2 separate regions of the Homo sapiens genome follow, and region 2 is linked to region 1. Evidence: promoter capture Hi-C in human tissues and cell types (Jung and others, 2019). All regions are on one chromosome and are shown on one strand. Each heading gives the region's core, a stretch centred on a gene start or on the middle of the fragment in contact. The rest is flanking DNA. Distances are from core to core; before and after follow the strand shown. Region 1 holds the start of IRF5 (interferon regulatory factor 5). Region 2 overlaps TNPO3 (transportin 3).

Region 1 (3,404 bases), core at 46-2,545:
TACTGGGGGTGGGGGCAGGAAGGGGAGGTCTTGCCAGAGGGCCTCCTGAGGGGCTACAGTTTCCTACATCGATACAGCCGAGCCCTCTCTGGTTCTGGTCACTTATCCCCATTCTGGGCCCTCGAGGAGCCCAGGCCCAGCCCAGTCCTCCGCCCCTGCTCCCCCCTCCCCTCCGCCCCCACCCCTCCCGCGTGCTCCGCTGGGGCACACCCCCTGGGCCAGCCCGCGGAGCCACCCCCACCTCCAGAGTCGGCCTCTGGACCTCTCCTCCTGCTGCTGGAGGAGCAGCACCCCGGTCCTCGCCCTGCTGTGTTCAGCGTGGCCGCGAGGCTGGGAAAGTCCCCCACTCCAGCCTCTGCTCCCAGGTACCCGCTCCCGCCCCTCCCGGGGTCCGGAGACAACCATCTCCCCACGCATCCCGGCCATGCTAGCCTCACTTTTCCTCCACGTTTAGCCTCTTCATTGTTGCCTTCTTAAGTTCTGGGACAGGACCTGAGGAAACCAGCCCAGGAACTATTGCGCCCCATCCTTTTCCGCTGCTCGGGGGACGAGAGTCTGCCATTCCCGGCCGCGAGCCCAGGGACGCAGCCTCTACCTGACACCATCTTCCCCCAAACTCTTGCACAGTTCCTGCCATTGGCCTGAAGATCCCGGGGGATGAACGCTTTAACCTCAACCTCTTTTCCGAAAGGGTGAGGGTGGCCCGGTAAGAGCAAGGGCGAGTGCATCGAAAGTAAGGATCGGGCCTCGCTCCTCTGTGGTCCAAGCCAGCCTCCAGCGGGGCTCCCGGGAACCCCCATTCTGGGCGATGGCGAGGGGGAGGGAGAGCAGCAGAGCCGGCGCCCCCCGCAGCGCTGCCCACTCCGCCGCCTGGGTCACTGGGCTCCCCGGGCGCCAGCACCCCAAACCGATCGGGGCGTGGGAGGCGCTTTGGAAGTCCCAGGCCGGCCGGGCGCACCCTGCTGTAGGCACCCACCCGAGCTCGCTTTCCAGGCGCAGCTGGACGCGGACCCCGCCCTACTCCAGTCTTCATCCCGCCGCCCGCAGGTGCCTGGGGGGCGCGGGGCCCAGTCTAGGCCTAGACTTGGGGGCAGTAGCCGGCACCGCTCCCGCCACCCTCGGGGCGCGCCGGGCGCGGACGCAGAGAGGAGAGCGCGGCGGCCGGGACCCACCTGTCTGCGGTGCGCCTGCGTGGCTGCGCCAGGGAGCACCGGCCGGGCGGCGGGACCAAGCTGAGCTCTGCCCAGGCTGCGCCTCCCGCCGGTCCGCCAACCTGCCGGGCACTTCCGCGTCTTGCCGCCCCCGCCCCTGGGCAGCTGCTGCTGAGCTCCGGGCGCGGGCAGTGCCCCGCCCCGCCCCGCGAATCCACTCCGGGCCCCGCACTGACCTGGCAACTGCAGATCCGGGCTGAGCCTCGGGCCAGGCCCAGGGCCTCCAGGGAGATGCCAGACGGCGCGGTGCCCTAGACTGGCCACTGGCTCTTTTGGCAATCTGGAATGGCAAAACTGTCATTTGACAACCCCGTACCTCCCGCTGCAGTGCTCAGTTGGGCCCTGGGAGAGGGTGGGGTGCTTCCCCACTCTGGTCCTCCGGGGCTGCACACAAATGAGGGCGCAGTGTGGCCGACCCACAGCTCCAGGCCCTCCTCTCGCCTGCCTACACCCCTGGCGAGGGTGGCTCTCGCCCTAGAACACAGTCGCTGCCCCCAGGATCCAGACACCCCTTCCAGATGTGCTTGCAGGCGGGAATCCTCTAGTCACTCTGTGCCTTTCTCATCCTCAAACCCTGCACCTGTCTCGCCCCAGCTCCCCTAAGTCGCCTTCCAGTCATCCCAGGGGCAGCGGCGTGGTCGCCTGTCCCACCTCCTCTCACTACTACCTTGACCGTCGACCTGTGGTTCTGAACCGTTTTCGATTCCATAAAGAACCTCACCCCAGAACCTCCACCTTCACACACCTCCTGTTCCTTCTCATGGAATGTTCTTCGCTTGGTAACTCTTGCTCTTCAAAATTTCTGTTTCTGAAATTTTCAGCATCGCCTTCTCTGGAAAGTCTGCCTTGACTTCCCCTCCCAGGTGGGGTTCCAGGGTGCAAATAGCTTCCTGGTTGATTTTGCTTATGATTTTGTTATGGATTGCCAGGGGTTTGGTCCAGGTCTGGCTGCTCACCGCACAGAAAGCCTATCACTGAGACAGCGAGTATTGCCAGGGAAGACTTTATTCCGGTGACATCAGCCAGTGAGCTGTTGAGAGGGGAGACAAACCTCCAATCCATCCCTCCCCTTGACTAAAGTTAGGGGCTTATATAGCAGGGAAGGAAAACAGGAGGGACAAGGAAGAGGAATTGGTCAACAGGCAGCAGGTGTACTGATGTAAGTGTCTCAAGCTTCAGTTCTATGAGCATCTGGCTTTTTGGAAAATTCAGCGGGTTTCAATTTTGATGTCTGATTTCCACTCGAATCAGCTTACTCAGGAACCTCCCTCCTGTCTTTTCATTGTTCATTTTATTTTATTTTATTTTTTGATATGGAGTCTTGCTCTGTCACCCGGGCTGGAGTGCAGCAGTGCGATCTCAGCTCACTGCAACCTCTGCCTCCCCAGTTCAAGCGATTCTCCTGCCTCAGCCTCCCAAGTAGAGACGGGGTTTCACCATGTTGGCCAGGCTGGTCTCGAGCTCCTGACCTCAGGCGATCCACCCGCCTTGGCCTCCCAAAGTGCTGGGATTACAGGCGGGAGCCACTGCGCCAAGCAGAGCCTTGTATTTTTAACAAATAAAGTAGTATTTGTTGATGAATCAGAACTTTGACCTTCCCTCCCCTCCCTTCTCCTGGGTTGAACTTTACCTTTAACAAGTTAAAAAAAGACACTCATGTGTTAACGTTTTTTTTTTTTCTCTTCTGTATCTCTCCCTCTTTCCTGACCTTTGAAGCCCTAATATGAAGTCGAAATATCATTATATATAAGTATTTTATTATTTGTATCTGCTGAGTATTTCATTATTTCATATTTTTAAAATTTAAAGTATGGATGGGGAAAATGTGAATGGGTAGATCGTTTTATATTTCTTTCTTTAAAAATGAAATTGCTAGGCCAGGCACGGTGGCTCACATTTGTAATCCCAACACTTTGAGAGGCTAAGGCAGGCAGATCACTTGAGTCCAAGAGTTCGAGACCAGCCTGGGCAATATGGCAAAACCTTGTCTCTACAAAAAATACAAAAATTAGCCTGGCGTGGTGACACACACCTATAGTTCCACCTACTTGGGAGGCTGAGGTGGGAGAATTGCTTGAACCCAGGAGGCACACCACCGCACTCCAGCCTGGGCGTAGAAGTGAGATCTTATCTCAAAATAATAATAATAAAATGAAATTGCTATTTCAAAAGTGGCTCCCCACAAAATGGGAA
Region 2 (3,343 bases), core at 509-3,008, 39 kb before region 1:
GAAATGAAACACTTTTGTATTTATTAACAAACTAAAAAAACACTTGAAAGAGATTAGTGCCTGTGATAGGTACATTGTCTATAAGGGAAACAGCCTAAAATCGCTTCTGTATAGTAGCTATAGCAGTATTCTAAGTAGCAACACAGTCCATTGTGAAATTCTGTGAAGCGAATGACTTGGGCTCAGTACTTATATACTAATGGTAAGCATTTTTATATTGAGATCCTTGGGGAAAAAATGTAGCAAGTCAGACTTTGCTGTTTCTTTGCCCAAAGGGATTTTCTTCAATCTTGGCCACAGTTAGTTGTCCACAGAAGTCTCTTGTCAAAAAATAAATTTGACTCTTTTAGTCATTAAGATTGATATGTAATTATGATGGTATGACTCACTAAATGATGTTCTCTAAAATCATATTCTCATCTAGAACTGTATGAGATGCCTATGCTTAAGTCACTAAGTAATTGTGTTGATGTTAACCTTAGAGCAGGGCCAGGATGCCAGTGCCTAGGGCACAAGATTTAGGGACACAAGGCAAAGTGCCAATCCTGCATTTGCAGGACTCTGAGGTGCTTTCTGAAATTTTGTACCCATGCTGTGAGGAAAACAGTCACAGAGCTCCAGGCTAGAGTCATACCCCACCCAACCTGAAGTGACCATGCTCCACCTAGGGAGAGGAGAGCACCTAGGGTGCAGATTTTAAGGAGGTCCTGGCCTTAAGAATGAGTTCCCCCTGGCCAGGTGCAGTGCCTCACGCCTGTAATCCCAGCACTTTGGGAGGCCGAGGTGGGTGGATCACGAGGTCAGGAGTTCAAGACCAGCCTGGCCAAGATGGTGAAACCCCATCTCTACTAAAAATACAAAAAATTAGCCAGGCGCAGTGGCAGGCGCCTGTAGTCCCAGCTATTCATGAGGCTGAGGAAGGAGAATCATTTGAACCCGGAGGGTGGAGGTTGCAGTGAGCTGAGATCGTGCCACTGCACTCCAGCCTGGGTGACAGAGTGAAACTCCATCTCAAAAAAAAAAAAAAAGAAAAAAGAAAAAAAGAATGAGTTCCCCCTTAAATTCTGCATCATAGGTGCCCTCAACCACAGGCACAGGCATGCTGGTGCGGTGTTGGTACTTGGATAACCTTGCCTCTCTAAATTATAGATTTGATTAAAGATTGTACAGGTAAATATTTCAACAGAATTTTAATTTTTAGTGATTTCTCTACTTTCACTATATGCTGAGCACAATAATGTATGTTCGCATTTAGGCGATTGCCACCTCTGGTCAAGTGTCCCCTTCAGTGCAATACATTCTGGGTCTACTACAACTTGATAGACTGCCCCTTTGCTGTTGGAGGATACCCTCATGACTTTGATACTGTTTTTTAATTCCTGCCAGTTAAGTATATGACTAACCCAATAGAGTAGGTAGCACTATTATATAGGAAGTGTGTTCTAGAGTCAGTACATGTGACAAAAATGAAAATTATCCTTAAAAAATCCCTTAACTCAGGAGCCAGCAATTGATAGTCAGTGGCCTTGCCACCTATTTTTGTTTTTGTGTTTTTTTTAATGTTTTACTGAGCTATAGCCATAATTCATTTACGTATTATCTATTGGTCATTTTTGTGCTACACTGGCAAACTTGAGTGGGCAGAAGACTGAATGGTGGATAAGATCTATACTTTTTACAAAGTAGCCCTTTAAGAAAATGTTTGGCAACCCTTGACTTAATCATTCCTTAGTAGAGCATATAATTTTGAGTTTACAACATGGAATGGATTCATAGCTCCCATCTCATGCTCATTCCATGGCATATGCCAACAGAAGAATTAAGTTACTGTATCCTTTCAGTCCCAAGTTCATAGAGTTGAATTTATGTAATAAGATCAATACATATGTACTGTGGTGGCATTTTAAATAGGTGAGTGTACAATTGTTTCTTAATTCTGGGAGGATAGTGGAGTAAAAATTCTAAACAAATCATTTAAGCGCATATCGTGGCCGGGCATGGTGGTGCACACCTATAGTCCCAGCTGCTCGGGAGGCTGAGGTGGGAGGATCCCTTGAGCCTGGTAGGTTGAGGCCACAGTGAGCCAAGATCTCACCACTGCACTCCAGCCTGGGCAACAGAGCGAAACCCAGTCTCTTAAAAAAAAAATAATAATGTGCATATTGTGTTAAAATTTTTGCTGTGTTGAAATCCAAATATCTTCGTAGAAAACACTATTTTTTACTTAAAAGATAAAATAGGTTTAGGAGCAACTCAAAATTTAAACAATGCTTTCACTGTCTTCTCCAAGATGAAGGTGTTTGATACTGTTTTCCCAACTGTGGCTATATATCCTATTTAAAAGTATGACTTATCTACAGTGCAAATGAGAGCAACTTTTACGTACTGGATGAAATATTCTGTGCTGGGGTTTTGCAAATAATCCATGAGTTCCCTGATAGCTTCTAGCTTTAACTCTTATACAGCATTGTCTTGGGAAGATGAAAGGTCAAAGGGTTGGAAGAATAGAGAACCTGAAAATCATTGAGATATTGAGCCCTGTGTTTCACAAAATAGTGCTAAGAAGCTTTATACTATGTTGCCTTAAAGAGAAGAAGCCAATCTATCTCTGAATTTCTTCCTGGAGACAGCTTCGTAAGTTGGTACTTTTTGAAGGACGAAGCATTGAACTAATTGTTTTTTCCCTCAACAGATGGTGAATGTGTACCACGTACATCAGCATTCCTGCTTCCTGTACCTTGGCAGTATCCTTGTGGATGAATATGGCATGGAAGAAGGCTGTCGGCAGGGACTGCTAGACATGCTCCAGGTATCTTTTCCATGAGGAGTGTAGACGCATCAGGCCTAGAGGGTCTGAAGGCCTAGCAGCGTATTCTTTACCATGTCTTTAATTCTGTTGCTTCTTTATGTTTTCCCCCAGGCATGTTGATTTCCTAATAACAGGGAGGTGGAAGCTTCCCAGTTGTTCTCTGAACAGGCCTGTTTGAGAGAATGAGAGACTGACCACATGAGTGTAATGATTATTACATGTTACTGCCTGGTTTATGCTCTTCCAGAGATAGGGTGTTTGGAGGGGGGAGGAGGTGAGAAAAATGAATCTCTAAGCTCAAGCATTATTGTATTTTTAACTTCTTGCCTGGAACAGCCAACTGACTAGTTTACTTAGCAGCAGGGAGGGTTTTAGAATTAATAATAGCATTGGAAACAGCTCCTCAGATACTGCTTTTCCCTCCCTTCCAGCCACAGAGGGGAATATTGAGTTGAAGAATGTTGTTTCTTTTCCCAAGATGTCTTTTCATTTAAAATTGATATTTCATAATTATTATAAAAACTTCCACTCCCT

The links. The method cuts DNA at HindIII sites, captures the fragments that hold promoters and counts their contacts. A contact is called where the count stands out against the background at its distance.
Region 2: a fragment that was not itself captured here is called in contact with the fragment with the promoter of IRF5 in region 1 in 4 of the 25 tissues and cell types used here (IMR-90 fibroblasts, lymphoblastoid cells, mesenchymal stem cells and 1 more).

The regions. Positions count from the first base shown.
Region 1 is chr7:128,935,818-128,939,221 of GRCh38, reverse strand. IRF5 (interferon regulatory factor 5) reads right to left here and starts at 1,295. Exons shown (of 9, transcript NM_001098629.3): 1 at 1,173-1,295. RefSeq lists enhancers at 319-388, 422-1,005, 2,673-2,967 and a silencer at 669-1,428. The HindIII fragment of the contact is 4,364 bases long and covers 1,117-3,404 here.
Region 2 is chr7:128,975,285-128,978,627 of GRCh38, reverse strand. TNPO3 (transportin 3) reads left to right here. Exons shown (of 23, transcript NM_012470.4): 17 at 2,693-2,809. Among named protein-coding and RNA genes, the nearest start is that of IRF5, 39 kb to the right of the region's middle. The HindIII fragment of the contact is 5,983 bases long and covers 1-3,343 here.